Regions from separate parts of the Homo sapiens genome. Here all the other regions are linked to region 1. Evidence: promoter capture Hi-C in 16 types of primary human blood cells and fetal thymus (Javierre and others, 2016). All regions are on one chromosome and are shown on one strand. The core of a region is centred on a gene start or on the middle of the fragment in contact, and the rest is flanking DNA. Distances in the headings are between cores, read along the strand shown.

What was found. The method cuts DNA at HindIII sites, captures the fragments that hold promoters and counts their contacts. A CHiCAGO score of 5 or more calls a contact.
Region 2: a contact is called between the fragment with the promoter of YBX1 here and a fragment that was not itself captured in region 1, in 3 of 17 cell types (total B cells, fetal thymus and naive CD8 T cells). The highest score is 7.3, in total B cells.
Region 3: a contact is called between the fragment with the promoter of ZMYND12 here and a fragment that was not itself captured in region 1, in 1 of 17 cell types (naive CD8 T cells). The highest score is 5.5, in naive CD8 T cells.
Region 4: a contact is called between the fragment with the promoter of PPIH here and a fragment that was not itself captured in region 1, in 1 of 17 cell types (total CD8 T cells). The highest score is 5.1, in total CD8 T cells.

The regions. Positions count from the first base shown.
Region 1 is chr1:43,355,896-43,359,595 of GRCh38, forward strand. CDC20 (cell division cycle 20) reads left to right here and starts at 3,086. Exons shown (of 11, transcript NM_001255.3): 1 at 3,086-3,111; 2 at 3,272-3,501; 3 at 3,595-3,700. The coding sequence starts at 3,321. CDC20-DT (CDC20 divergent transcript) reads right to left here and starts at 2,778. Exons shown (of 4, transcript NR_183650.1): 1 at 2,655-2,778; 2 at 2,147-2,213; 3 at 1,908-2,005. RefSeq lists enhancers at 1,855-2,363, 2,475-2,534, 2,874-3,382 and silencers at 2,825-2,934, 3,125-3,274. The HindIII fragment of the contact is 210 bases long and covers 2,346-2,555 here.
Region 2 is chr1:42,680,335-42,683,803 of GRCh38, forward strand. It overlaps YBX1 (Y-box binding protein 1), which reads left to right and starts at 2,084. Exons shown (of 8, transcript NM_004559.5): 1 at 2,084-2,397; 2 at 3,069-3,132. The coding sequence starts at 2,232. It also overlaps a transcript of PPIH not described here. RefSeq lists an enhancer at 1,740-1,789 and silencers at 2,230-2,429, 2,620-2,729, 2,840-2,989. The HindIII fragment of the contact is 3,657 bases long and covers 519-3,469 here.
Region 3 is chr1:42,454,410-42,457,942 of GRCh38, forward strand. It overlaps ZMYND12 (zinc finger MYND-type containing 12), which reads right to left and starts at 1,613. Exons shown (of 8, transcript NM_032257.5): 1 at 1,479-1,613. The coding sequence starts at 1,588. PPCS (phosphopantothenoylcysteine synthetase) reads left to right here and starts at 2,134. Exons shown (of 3, transcript NM_024664.4): 1 at 2,134-2,664; 2 at 2,838-2,941. The coding sequence starts at 2,157. It also overlaps a transcript of CCDC30 not described here. RefSeq lists enhancers at 1,735-1,964, 2,205-2,274, 2,365-2,484. The HindIII fragment of the contact is 2,356 bases long and covers 859-3,214 here.
Region 4 is chr1:42,656,759-42,660,146 of GRCh38, forward strand. It overlaps PPIH (peptidylprolyl isomerase H), which reads left to right and starts at 1,665. Exons shown (of 10, transcript NM_006347.4): 1 at 1,665-1,754; 2 at 2,086-2,150; 3 at 2,470-2,493; 4 at 2,764-2,808. The coding sequence starts at 1,689. CCDC30 (coiled-coil domain containing 30) reads left to right here. Exons shown (of 21, transcript NM_001395517.1): 21 at 1-432. The region is part of intron 1 of LOC124904162 (a long non-coding RNA gene); the gene reads right to left. The HindIII fragment of the contact is 5,565 bases long and covers 1-3,388 here.

The DNA.
Region 1 (3,700 bases), core at 1,201-3,700:
GCCTGTTTTCTGTATTTTTTTTAGAGACAAGGTGATACTATGTTGCCCAGACTGGTCCCAAACTCATGAGCTCAAGCAATCCTCTGGCCTTGGCCTTCCAAAGTGCTGGGATTACAAGTGTAAGCCACCACACCCAGCCAGATGTTGAAGTCTTAACTCCCAGTACTTCAAATACGACCTTATTAGGAAATAGGGTCATTGCAGATATAATTAGTTAAGATGAGGTCAGGGCCCTAGTTCAATATGATTGGTATTCTTATAAAAAGAGAAAATTGGACACACATACACACAGAAAGAAAGCCAAGTGAAGATGAAGGCAGAGAACAGGGCGATTCTTCTATAAGCCAAGGAATGACAAAGATTGCCGGCAAACCACCACCAGAAGCCAGGAGAGAGGCATGGAACAGATTCTTCCTCACGGTTCTCACACAACTCTCATGACACCTTGATCTGGAACTTCTAACCTCCAGAATTGTGAGACAACCAATTTCTGTCATTTAAGCCAGTTTGTGGTACTTTGTTACAGTAACTCTAGCAAACGAATATAGAGGATATCAGGGGATGGGCTACACAAGTCACCTATACTTGCCGGCTTCCCGTTCTCCCTATTTCATTCTTTCCGCAACTCCTCCAAAATGGATCTCAAGCACCCACTTTCCTGATCCTGCTCTCTCCAAAGTCATCGGTAATTTGATTTTCAATGGCCAAATCTGACCCTTTCTGTCATCATTCCACTTGACTACATATATTAGGGTATCTCCCACTTCAAGATCCATGTCTGGATAATTTCCATTGCCTTCCTTCATTCATTTATTATTATTATTATTTTGAGACAAAGTCTCCCTCTGTCACCCAGGCTAGAGTGCAGTGGCGCGACCTCGCTCACTACAACCTGCGCCTCCCAGGTTCAAGCGATTCCCCTGCCTCAGCCTCCCAGGTAGCTGGGATTACAGGTGTGCACCACCACACCTGGCTAATTTTGTACTTCTAGTAGAGACAGGGTTTCGCCACATTGGCCCGACTAGTCTTGAACTACTGACTTCAAGTGATCTGCCCGCCTTGGCCTCCCAAAGTGCTGGGATTACAGGAGTGAACCATGACAACCTGCCCAAATCCTTTATTTTTAAATGTACAAATTCCCTGAGGCTATACCCTTTATCCTTCTCTATAGCTACCACCAGAAGTTGCAAATTATTGCCATATCCCCCCCCTCAGATGTTTTATTTGGTCCTTCCCTACACAGAAACCCCACAGGTACCACAATGCCTAGCAGATGAAGTCCAAAGTCTTTAGCTTAACATTTAAGACCCTGACCAACTTGACATGAGACAACCTTTTCTATGTTTTCTGGGAATTCCCCACCTCTAACCTAAGCATATCCAATTCCTTATTTTCCAAGGTAATTGGAAATAGAGAATGCAAAGGCTTCAAGTCAAAGATAATAACATTATCTGTAAGCATCGGAGTGGACTTTAAGCTAATGACTGAAAATGATTTTTCCAGCCTCTTTCTGGGACAGTATAGCGTATTGTTTAGATTGCAGGGATTAGTCAGATAGTTTGAATCCTGGGCTCCCCTACTTATTATTGGCTGCATGCCTTTGGGCAAGTTTCTAATCTTTCTGACCCAGTTTCTTTTTTCTGTAAAGGGAAGATGGGGTATCTATCTGCCTTATGGGATTAAGGATTGAACTCGATAATGTATGTAAACTTTTTTTTTTTTTTTCAGACAGAGTATCGCTCTGTTGCCCAGGCTGGAGTGCAGTGGCTCGATCTCGGCTCACTGCAAGCTCCGCCTCCCGGGTTCACGCCATTCTCCTGCCTCAGCCTCTCGAGTAGCTGGAACTACAGGCGCCCGCCACCAAGCCCGGCTAATTTTTTGTATTTTTAGTAAAGACGGGGTTTCACCGTGTTAGCCAGGATGGTCTCGATCTTCTGACTTCGTGATCTGCCCGCCTCGGCCTCCCAAAGTGCTGGGATTACAAGCGTGAGCCACCGCGCATGGCCTGTAAATTGTTTTAACACAGTAGTTAGATGGTCCATAAATGGTACCATTATTACTTTTATGATTGCTGCTCCACCTCTGAGCACATTCATACAATTCACTCAAGTCATTATTAGAGCACTAGATTGAGTGCGAGTCAGACCTGGATTCCCACAAACTTCTTTGTATGACCTCGGGCACATCCCTTCCCTGGGCCTCCGTTTCTCCATCTGTAAAATATGGATTTGTTGTCGGGGTGGGGAGGCTGCACCACGCACAGGTTAGACTAATGGATCTCTAAGGTCCTCACATCTTTAAAGCCCCAAGGGGATAAGCCACAGTGCCTCCTGTAGGGCAGTCTAAGCTTATCTTCCAGATAGGCAGGTTTGAATACCGATCCTTTTTCTTGACCTTAAGGAATTCATTCACCCTTTTCAACCTCATTTTCCCTGTTTGTAAAACAACAGCAAACGAGACAAACACACGTTACTTCCTTTCTAGCAGGGTTCCTACCCGGCGCCAAGCAAAAGTGGAATGTACCCTAAGTAGCTCTGGCCTTCTTCCTGCTCCCAAGCTTCCCAATTCCGTCCCCTGCCCCGCTGCCGCCCGCGGCTCTCCTTCCCCTTCTAGGAACGGCTCAAGCGCCTTGGGCACTCCATCGGGTTCTGCACCGAGTTCTGCATCATAAATACGACTCTCGTGTAGGATTTAAGTGTGAACTTCTGCAGGTTCTCGGACCCTGAAGCACCCGGGGCCAGACATTCCGAGCTCGCGGCGGTGGAAGGCACGCAAAAGGGCGAACCGAGACGACTCCAGGACGCTGAGGCAGCGCAGGCCCCACCCGGCCCCGCCCTGCCCCGCCCTGTCCCGGCCGGCTTTCCAGTACTAGTCCTCTGGCGCCGGCTCCCAGCCCCTCTCGTACCCTTCAAATCGCGCTCCGCCGCTAGACTCTCGTGATAGCTGAGACTTTCCCCGGAAGGCCCGCCCCCTTCGCCGGAGAGGCCAATGGGCTAGGGCAACGGTTGCGACGGTTGGATTTTGAAGGAGCCAATAGGCGCTCGGAGCGGAGAGTTTAAGAGGCGTAAGCCAGGCGTGTTAAAGCCGGTCGGAACTGCTCCGGAGGGCACGGTGAGAGGTGGTGGGGCTGAGCCGAGGTGGGGCCGTGGCCAGGGGGAGGGGGTGCTAGGCCGGAAGGGGCTGCAGCCGAGGGTGGCCCTGATTTTGTGGCCGGCCAGGAGCGAAGGGGTCCCTTTCTGTCCCCTGAGCACCGTCGCCTCCTTTCCTCCAGGGCTCCGTAGGCACCAACTGCAAGGACCCCTCCCCCTGCGGGCGCTCCCATGGCACAGTTCGCGTTCGAGAGTGACCTGCACTCGCTGCTTCAGCTGGATGCACCCATCCCCAATGCACCCCCTGCGCGCTGGCAGCGCAAAGCCAAGGAAGCCGCAGGCCCGGCCCCCTCACCCATGCGGGCCGCCAACCGATCCCACAGCGCCGGCAGGACTCCGGGCCGAACTCCTGGTCAGTGAGGTGCCAAAGGAACTGAGTGAGAGCAGCCTTCATACTTTCTCCCTGGGGAGCCTGGTCAGACTGTCTTCTCTTTCTCCGCCCCAGGCAAATCCAGTTCCAAGGTTCAGACCACTCCTAGCAAACCTGGCGGTGACCGCTATATCCCCCATCGCAGTGCTGCCCAGATGGAGGTGGCCAGCTTCCTCCTGAG
Region 2 (3,469 bases), core at 834-3,333, 680 kb before region 1:
ACTGAAGCAACACTTTTAACCAATTTCTATTTTCATAGAATTCAGCTGTTTGCTACCTCTGCTCCTGCAGTATCCTGCAGCCAGTAGTTACAAGCACCTGGAAGGTTGGACAGGGAATACAAGAGAAGACTCTAAGACTTCTCTTAGAAGTCATAGAGTCCAGTAAACCACATTATGGAATCTGGACTACCCTAAGGGTAATAGTAGTCACTGGAAGATTTTAAGTAAGACAGTGTCATGATCAGATAGATGTTCTCAAAAGAACTTTCTGGCTGTTGTGGTGGGTAATATTAGAGTAAGAAAGAGGTAGAGAGGTGTGGTTAGTAGCCAACAGCACTGCTCTATGCTAGGGGTCAGCCGACTACACTCCGTTTTTCTGTGGCTCATGAGCTAAGAATACAAATGGTTTTTAAAATGTTTAAATAGTTGAAAATATGTAAAGATTCGTGTCATGTAAAAATTAAGGCTGTTTTCAAGCTCCAAACCTGAGTAGTAAGTCAGAACCATATGGTCGGCCAAGCTTATATTATTAACTATTTGGCTCTCACAGAAAAAGGTTCCTACCCCTTGCTCTAAGCAATTGGTGATGATGGCCTACAGTAGTGACAGTAGGAATGAAAAGACTCTGAATTGACATTTAGAGGGTTTAGGACTGACTCAAGAACGCCTTTAGGAGGTGGAACTCACAGGCCTAGACGGCATTGGTAGGGGTAAGGAATACTGCATTAGCCTCCTAACTGCTTTCTCTACTTCCATTCCTTGCCCCTCTGCAACCCATTCTCCACTCCGCAGCCATTTTTAAAAAGATGCCCCTCCCTACTTATGACTCTAAAATTGCTCTTCTCACTCTTCCCCTCAGGATATATTTCCAATTAAATATACCTAAGTGACTGCCCACCTCTGCAACCCAATGTCACATTCGAGTCTTACTGAACTACTTGACTGCATTTCCCGAGATCTCACCTCTTCTCGCCTGTACCCTGTGCGCGGAAAGTCAGCCCTCCACCTTCTCCCTGCTTCCACTCCCAAAATACTTCGTGGTTTTGCAGCTCTGGAGTATTTACCGTGTTGGCTGTTTAAATTTCTGCCTCCATCAGAAGGCAGAAACTGACTCGCGAACTATTCCATCCCCAGCCGATAGTAGACGCTTAAAAAAGAACGAAAGAAGGTGGGTGGAGGACTTCAGTAACATCAGGTGGCAGCCTCAATTTTATCGTTTGTGAAACGTGGATAGTAATCCCTCTATCACGTGGCTGTTGCAGGAATAAAGTGAAAAAACAAAACAGGCTAGCTTGTTCAATAAATGTGAGTTGAATTAAATCTGATTTGTGGTCAGTAGAAAAAGATGTGAATACTTGGAAAGGAAGACACATTTTTTTAAATATATGCCTGGTAAAACGGATCAGAAGGCAGGTCCCCATGGAGCACACCCTCGCCCTAAACATGCTGAACCCGGGCTGCCATAGCCTGCGTGGTCCCTCCAAGGTGACTGCTCCGACAAAAGGGTACGCTCTTCAAACGCATACGTTTAAGGCAATTCCAGAAACCCTCGGCTGTGCCGCGACTACACGGCCATTAAAGAAAAGACGACTCTATGCCCGCCGTAATGTTCTCAGATCACAGGGACCGTATTTGGAGCTGGGAGGGAGGGAAGCCTTTTCTTCACGGGGGGCTAAGGCGTCTTCGAGCCCCCTTCCAATCCCGGGTCCGGCCGGGTAATCCCTGCCCAGCGTTCGGGCGTGCCTTTTTTTCAGCCGAGACACAACCCTGAACGTGGGGCCCGCCAGCCCGGCGGCTGCCTCGTGGAAGTCACGTTCCTTCTGCCCGTCCTCTCGGGTACTCTATGGTTTTCGTGGCCGACTACTCTAATTCTAGTTCCGGTCTCTATGGCGGCCGGCGGAGGCAGGAACGGTTGTAGGTCGACTGAATTAGCCGCCAAAGGTCCAATGAGAATGGAGGACTGATAAAATATTAGCCAATAGAAGCTAGGGATTGGGGTCAGGTGGGCAGATTGACAGTACCACTGGCCAGTGAACAACGCCTAGGGCGGGTCGCTCGTAGGGCTTATCCCGCCTGTCCCGCCATTCTCGCTAGTTCGATCGGTAGCGGGAGCGGAGAGCGGACCCCAGAGAGCCCTGAGCAGCCCCACCGCCGCCGCCGGCCTAGTTACCATCACACCCCGGGAGGAGCCGCAGCTGCCGCAGCCGGCCCCAGTCACCATCACCGCAACCATGAGCAGCGAGGCCGAGACCCAGCAGCCGCCCGCCGCCCCCCCCGCCGCCCCCGCCCTCAGCGCCGCCGACACCAAGCCCGGCACTACGGGCAGCGGCGCAGGGAGCGGTGGCCCGGGCGGCCTCACATCGGCGGCGCCTGCCGGCGGGGACAAGAAGGTCATCGGTGAGGACCGGACAGGGACGGGGGTGGGGCCCTCGGGCAGCCCAGCAGCGGAACCGTTAGCCGGAGCTGGGCGAGCCGGCGGGCGCGCGGCCGGTGGGCACCGACTCCGCGGCGCGCGGCCGCCCATCCCCCCCGTCCCCCCCTCACTCCCTCTCGCGGGGACCCGCCCGGCAGGCGCGCGCGCACTGCCTCCCGCGCCCCCTGTGGACCCCGCGCGGCCGCGCGCCCCTCCCCCTGCGGCCGCGCGCCGCCGACCGCGTGTGCGACGGGGTCCCCTCCCCGCCGACCGGCCTCGTGCGCTCGGGCCCGCACGCCGTTGTTCGCGTCACCCCCACCCAGCTCCCTTCCGCGTGTGCTCGGAGGGCGCGGCGCACCGCCTACGCAGGCCGGAGCGGCTTCCCCTTCCCTCACGTGCTCTCCGTCCGCGGCCTGCGCACACACCCATCCTGGGGCCCGCGCCCCGGGCCTGCCCTGGAGCGCCCCGCGCTTCAGACTCACCCACGTGTGCGGCGGCGGCGGCGACTGCGTGGCCCCGCACCCGGGCGGTGGAGAGAAAGGGCTGTCAGGTGGCCGCGGCGGCCGGCGTGCGAGGGACCGGATGCCCAAGCCGGGCGGATTTGGAAAAGGATAGCTGGTAATCGTGGCTTGTTTTGCTTTGTTTTCTTTTCCAGCAACGAAGGTTTTGGGAACAGTAAAATGGTTCAATGTAAGGAACGGATATGGTTTCATCAACAGGTGAGCTGCCGGGCTCTGAAGCCTCCATCCCACCTTCTTGCTTGCTTCCTGCTCTGTCGGCTTCTCGGGGCTTGGGAAGCCCCAATCCACAGCTCTGTTCTGAAAGGCGTTTACTACCTCTGGTGTATTAGTATGATTTTTTGTTGTTGTTGTTTTCCTTGATTAGGGATTAGTGGATCTAGAGAATGCCTTTGTTTTGCAGCTAAATATTAATTTGAAGCTAACTTAAAAGGCTTCGTCACAGTACAAAGCAATTCAAAAGGCAAGCGGAGTGAATGAGCCATTCCTTAACAGGGTAAACGGGAAACTACGGTCCAGTACATTTTTATCCTTGTCA
Region 3 (3,533 bases), core at 363-2,862, 900 kb before region 1:
ATAGGGGACATACTCAGTGCTTTGAGAGCACTGAGGAAGGACACCTAGGCCAGTATGAGAAGGTACTGCAACAGCTTCTTGATCTGTTATGCAGCCGTCAGTGTCTACCTTCCTCTGTATCTGCCACACTGCAGCCCATCCTCTTTCCTTAACACAAATGAGAGCATGTCAGCTCAAAACCATTCATGGTTTCCCAGGAGATAAATTCCAAACCCTTGATCTCATGTCACTGTCTAGCCCTAACCTTTATCTTCTTGGTTTAAACTTCTACTACCTATCACAATGATGTTCCAACTTTTTTTTTTTTTTTTGAGACACAGTTTCACTCTTGTTGCCCAAGCTGGAGTGCAATGGAGCGATCTCGGCTCACTGCAACCTCCGCCTCCCGGGTTCAAACGATTCTCCTGCTTCAGCCTCCCGAGTAGCTAGGATTACAGGTGCACGCCACCACATCCGGCTAATTTTGACTCAACCTATAGTAAGAAATACATTTTTCCTGTACACACACACATGTCCACATAAAACACTAAGACAAAAGTTTTAAGAAACAATTCAGGTAGGATTAACCTGATACTTTCTACTCATTCTGTGCTCTTTTTTGTTGTTGTTGTTTTCTCTAAATGGTGATTGTGACTTATTCATAAACTGCTAAAGGGCCCTGGCCTGCAGTTTGAAAATCACTGACTGCTCCCTCCACTACTACGTTCTCCACTCGGCCCTTAGCAAACTCTGTTCTTTTGCCATTTGCCCTAGCAGTCCCGGATGCCGGGAATGCCCTACCCTTCTTCACTACTCCTGTACACAGCAGGTTCTGACTGCCCTCTCAAAATGCAGCTCAAATGTTTCTTCCACAGGGAAAGCTTTCCACATACTGCCCCATTCACTATCGTCTCACTCTCGTTGCCCAAGCTGGAGTGCAGTGGCGCGATCTCCGCTCACTGCGAGCTCCGCCTCCCGGGTTCAAGCGATTCTTCTGCTTCAGCCTCCCGAGTAGCTGGGATTACAGGCGCCCAGCACCACTCCCGCCTAATTTTTGTATTTTTTAGTAGAGACAGGGTTTCACCATGTTGGCCAGGCTGGTCTCGAACTCCTGACCTCAGGCGATCCGCCCGCCTCGGCCTCCCGAAGTGCTGGGATTACAGGCGTGAGCCACCGCGCCCGGCCTGTTTCTTTACTGATTTGTCTCCCACATTGGAATGTTAGATCTTTGAAGGAACTGATCTACCGAGCTGCCCCAGTAACTTTAGCACCTAAAATAGTGCATAACACAGAGTACGCCTTCAGAAAACATGAGTGACGAATAAGTGGGAGATGAGACAGACGAGGCCACGGGAGTCTTAGGGGCCTGTCTTAAAGCCGTTTTGAGGTGTCCCTTGCAGAGTCAGGGGCAACGGCTAACGCAAGGTACCCAAGCCAGACCCGGGAAAGGGAGAGAGGGAGGGAGTTATAGCGCCCAGGTGCCACGTTTCAGGGCCTACCAGTAATAAGTGACTGTGCAGGCCGCGCACACCCGCTCGGCTGGGGCTTCGCACACCTCACAGCAGAGTCTGCGCCCCTTGGGGACTGCCAGTGGGTAGATCACATTCATGGTGCAGCCAGCAGTGCTGGTCTCTAAGACGGTTGCCCAGCAAGGATACGCTGAACCCCGGCGTCACGTGACGATCGCGGGGCTGCGTACTTGCCAGCATTTCAAGGGCAGAGGGCGGCGGGACGTGACTCGACTAACATCTGGGTGTATTGCTGAAGTTGGAAAAGGGGAAGAAAGAAAGAAAAAGCAGCACAAAACCCACAAGTCCCACGGGTCAAATGGCCGAGAAACGACTCCCAAGGAGTCCAAGTCCAGAAAGGCCCGTACAGTGGCCGGTAAGGGTCAAACATGGCCAGTTCTTCACCCAGGCTAGGAAACGAACGTGAGGGAACGTGACCCTACCAGATGCCCACCCAGCCGGGGATCCCCCTCGTTGCAGTGTCACTTTCGCTGGGCTCTGGGGCAGAACAACTACGCATTTCCAGACTTGGCGAGATCGGGACCTAGTGTCAAAAGAAGGGTAGTGAACCGCCCACTCAGTACGGCGCGGCGCGTACACCAGGTAGGCGAGAAGGGGCGTGGCGCGGCGGCCGCGAAACGTGCGCAGGCGCCGGCCGCTGCGCTGCAGATGGCGGAAATGGATCCGGTAGCCGAGTTCCCCCAGCCTCCCGGTGCTGCGCGCTGGGCTGAGGTTATGGCTCGCTTCGCGGCCAGGCTGGGCGCGCAGGGCCGGCGGGTGGTGTTGGTTACGTCAGGCGGCACCAAGGTCCCACTGGAAGCGCGGCCGGTGCGCTTCCTGGACAACTTCAGCAGCGGGCGGCGCGGTGCAACCTCGGCCGAGGCCTTCCTAGCCGCCGGCTACGGGGTCCTGTTCTTGTATCGCGCTCGCTCTGCCTTCCCCTATGCCCACCGCTTCCCACCCCAGACTTGGCTGTCCGCTCTGCGGCCTTCGGGCCCAGCCCTTTCGGGCTTGCTGAGCCTGGAGGCCGAGGAGAATGCACTTCCGGGTTTTGCTGAGGCTCTGAGGAGCTACCAGGAGGCTGCGGCTGCAGGCACCTTCCTGGCAGTAGAGTTCACCACTTTGGCGGACTATTTGCATCTGTTGCAGGCTGCGGCCCAGGCACTCAATCCGCTAGGTGCGTGCCCTAGGAGTACCCCTTTTGCCTGGAAGCACAGCCTTTCTTTCCAGCCACTTATCCCCTTACCTCCTGCTTACCCACGGATCTCAGCTGGGGAACCCGAGTTGAGAAGGAGCTGATCCTATATCGTACCTCGCCGATTTGTTAACACCTTGTGTTTCTCTTTGCAGGCCCTTCTGCGATGTTTTACCTGGCTGCGGCTGTGTCAGATTTCTATGTTCCTGTCTCTGAAATGCCTGAACACAAGATCCAGTCATCTGGGGGCCCACTGCAGGTGATGGGCGCTTCTCTTCCAGAGATCTAATCCCATATAACCAATCTTGGGTTAATTTCCTCTTGATCTGGAGATGGCCTTTCTGCATCTGTATTCGCTAGGCACAGGGGATACAGAGATGAATAAGACACCGCCCTCCCTCATGGACCTCACAATCTAGTGAGGGAGCTGGACACAGACATAATTACAATACAGAGTGATAAATGCTCTAGTGGAGGTATGTACAAAGTGCAGTCAGATCATGGGGCGAGTGAATCCTGGGGGAGTCGATGAAGCTTCTTGGAGGAGATGAATTGAACTGGGTTTTAAAAGATGAGCAGAACCGAGCGCGGTGGCTCACGCCTGTAATCCCAGCACTTTGGGAGGCCAAGGAGGGCAGATCGCCTGAGGTCAGGAGTTCGAGACCAGCCTGGCCAACATGGTGAAACCCCGTCTCTACTAAAAAAATACAAAAATTAGCCGGGCGTGGTGGCAGGCGCCTGTAATCCCAGCTACTCGGGAGGCTGAGGCAGAAGAATCGCTTGAAACCAGGAGGCGGAGGTTGCAGTGAGCTGAGATCTCGCCATTGCACTCCAGCCCGGGCGACGAGAGC
Region 4 (3,388 bases), core at 415-2,914, 700 kb before region 1:
AGTTCTCTATCCCATAGGGTTGTGAGGACCAAATGAAATGAAGCATGTAAAGTATTTAGCACGTAGTAACTGCTTAATAAATGCTATCATCATTTATTTTCACTAGAGGTTTATCAATGTACTATTTTTTTCACAACCTCATCAACATTGGATATTATCAATTTTAAAGATTTATTCTAAAACAGTTGGTATAAAATTATACTGAAGCGTGACTGCTGCTGTTCCTTTTCCCCCTCCTCCCCTTTCTTCTTTTTCAGTTGGAGGAGACCAAGAGGAGAGGATCAGTAACCAGAAATAAAAATGACCCTTTACATTGAGACACACTGTATTTTTATATGTAATCCTTGCTTTCTCAGACAACAGAGCTAGAAAGATGATCATAGGAACTAGGAAATAATAACTATTTTATTAAATGCATGCTGTTATATTGAATGAGCCTTGCCCAAGGTCCCCTTCTTTCACTAAATTCATTGCATCTATTATTTATTGAATACCTACTATATGCTATTCAGTAGGCGACATTGCAGCTACAGCTGCGAATAGGACCAGGAGAGTCTCTACTTTCATGGAGTTTATATGCTATCAGGGAGGAAGATTATGTGTGTGTGGCAGGAAATGAGGTGTAGACACATACCATACGAAGATAATGTGGAAGTGGGGGTGGCATGAAGAAAACAAACCAGTGATCTGAATGACCAAGGGCTACTTTAGATTAGGTCTAATGTTGCCTCTCAGGAGGTAACATCTGGGGTGAGCCCTGAACTACAAGGAGCATTACTTCCCACACGCATACCCCAACCAACCCCCACAATCCCCCGCCAACCCACATTAAGTTCTGGAAGGAATATTTCAGACAGAAGTAACAGCTATTACAAAGCCCTAAAGAGAGGAGGGATCTCAGTGACCTGGAGGAACAGACAGGTCAGAGCACAGTAACTAAGGGCAAGTGGTACAAGATGAGGTCAGGTACGTGATAGCCAGATAAATGCACTGTAGGGCTTCGTATGCACGGAATTGGATTTTATTCTAAATATGGGAAGCCAGGAGTTATTTTTAAAATAAATAGGAAGCACAAGAGTTATTTTAAAAATAAAAAATAAAAAACTCTAGTTGCTTTATGGGAAATGAATTGGAAATGACAAAACTGGTAGCTTTTGTGGCAGAACAAACATTATCTATTGTCCTGACTTAGAGGAAGGGATATTTACTTAGCAAGCCTGTACGTGCCAAGCTGTTCTAAACGCTGAGGATGAACAAACCAGAGTTCCTGCCTTCACGGTGTTCACACTAGCGGGCAGAAGACAGACAGCACGTGTGGCGGTGCAGAGGGCTTGGCTGCAAGAGCCGATAAGGAGGACCCTGGCGACTGCCTAGTCCAAAAGTCCTAGCTAGAGCAAGATCAACTTGTACTGCCCTTAGTACAGCCACGTGAGTGGGGTGACCATTGACCTTAACCAAAAAGATGTCAAGGCTTTCCTCCTCCTCACTCCCGCGTCCCCAGTGCCAGGCAGAGTCTCTCAGCTAGACCCTAGCAGTCTCAGCACACACCGCACGGGGCGACAGCTTCCGGGGGCGGAGCCTGGTCTCGCTCCACGTCTACCGCGCCTGCTCCCCGGACGAAATCCGCGGACCGGGCTTTAGGTTCGCCGGAATCCCACGCTCCCGACTTCTGCTTCCGGGTCGGAGCCATGGCGGTGGCAAATTCAAGTCCTGTTAACCCCGTGGTGTTCTTTGATGTCAGTATTGGCGGTCAGGTGAGATCCAGGAGGCTGCCCACACCTGCGCCGAAGGGAAACTGCTCGGGGCTAGGCAGGCAGAACTCACCCAGAGAGAGCGGACTCGGGAAGCCAGCCAGAAAGTGAAATTGCACCCGAACCTACCGACCTGCCGGGCGGGGGGAAAGGAGGAGGAGGAGTCTCCCCAATCCTAGCGCCCCGCTTCTGGAGGAACTGGGCGGTTAGACTAGGGAGGCGGAGGTGGGAGATACCGAGCGGCAGGGTGGTGGGTCAGCCCATCATGCCCCCTGCTCCGTGAAGCCCTCATGGTCTTGGACTGGGCCTTCTGACACTCTCCCGCTGATTGCAGGAAGTTGGCCGCATGAAGATCGAGCTCTTTGCAGACGTTGTGCCTAAGACGGCCGAGAACTTTAGGTAAGGACGTGCTCCAGCTCCGCTGGATTAGCTGAGGCAGAAGTCGGGCTCCAGTCAGCCGCCTGAAATAGCCTGTCTACCTCTGTCCGTCCGCTCACTGCTCTTGAGACCTGATTCCTCCATGCATTGCTCTGTCTGGTTGCCGTTTGGATTGTTCCCGTGTTAATTTACGTTGTTAGTCTGTGTGACTGCGTGTCTGGACGTCTGGCTGGCCGATTGGTGGACTTGCTGGCTCCAGTGTTTATTCTTTCCCGTATTTAGAGGCGCTCACGACTGTGACATCATAGTGATTGAATCATTCATTTTTTGTCCCTTTCAGGCAGTTCTGCACCGGAGAATTCAGGTCAGTTTCAGATGTGTTTGACTTCTTTGCCTGCTCCAGAGGGGTGTTCTGGGGCTGCAGTGAGGGTATCGGTGAACCACCTGCTGGCCTTGAATGATTGCTGGTGACAGTGATAGAAGGTAATGCCCCAAGGGTCTGTCCCTAGTTTATTTGCCTTCTTTATGTCTGTCAACCATCTTTAGGAGAGTCCTTTTGGCTCCAGTGCATGGTAAACTGGAAAGGCCTTGTGCTACCTGCTGTCACTCCAAGTCTCTTTCTTTTCGGTTATAGGAAAGATGGGGTTCCAATAGGATACAAAGGAAGCACCTTCCACAGGTAAGGCTCTTGGCAAGCCATCCTGGAGTCTTTCAGAAATATTTCCTGGGGGATTAGGCTCTTTAGAGGAAAATAAAACCAGAGGGTAATTCTTACATTTCTTGAGAAGAAATGTTTTTGTGGACTCAACAACTGAAGATTTATTAAATGTTCTAACTCTACTTACACTCCCCCACTTCTTAGGTCTTTAAAACAGAAACTACTCATCTTTACAATATCTTGTCTTTTTCATGCACTTGTTTGTGCGAATGCAGATTTTTTAAAAAGTACACTTGTAATCCTAAAGTGCATATAATATATCCTGCTGGTTGATATTTATAACTAATTCCTAAAATGATCATATATGATTGTCCAAGGATAATCATATTTCCTGGGGAGTGGAGTATGTCAACACTTAGTCTCATTTCAATATAGAATCTTTCTCATGGCCTCACTGTGGTTAGTAACAATGTTAGCACATAATTATATCACAGCTTTAGAGCTTTGGGTCTCTAATCCCCAGTAAGACTCCTGTGAAGTGGTATGGGTGATCTGCATTCTACAGAGGAGGAAACTGAGGATAAGAAAGGTTAAGGACCCT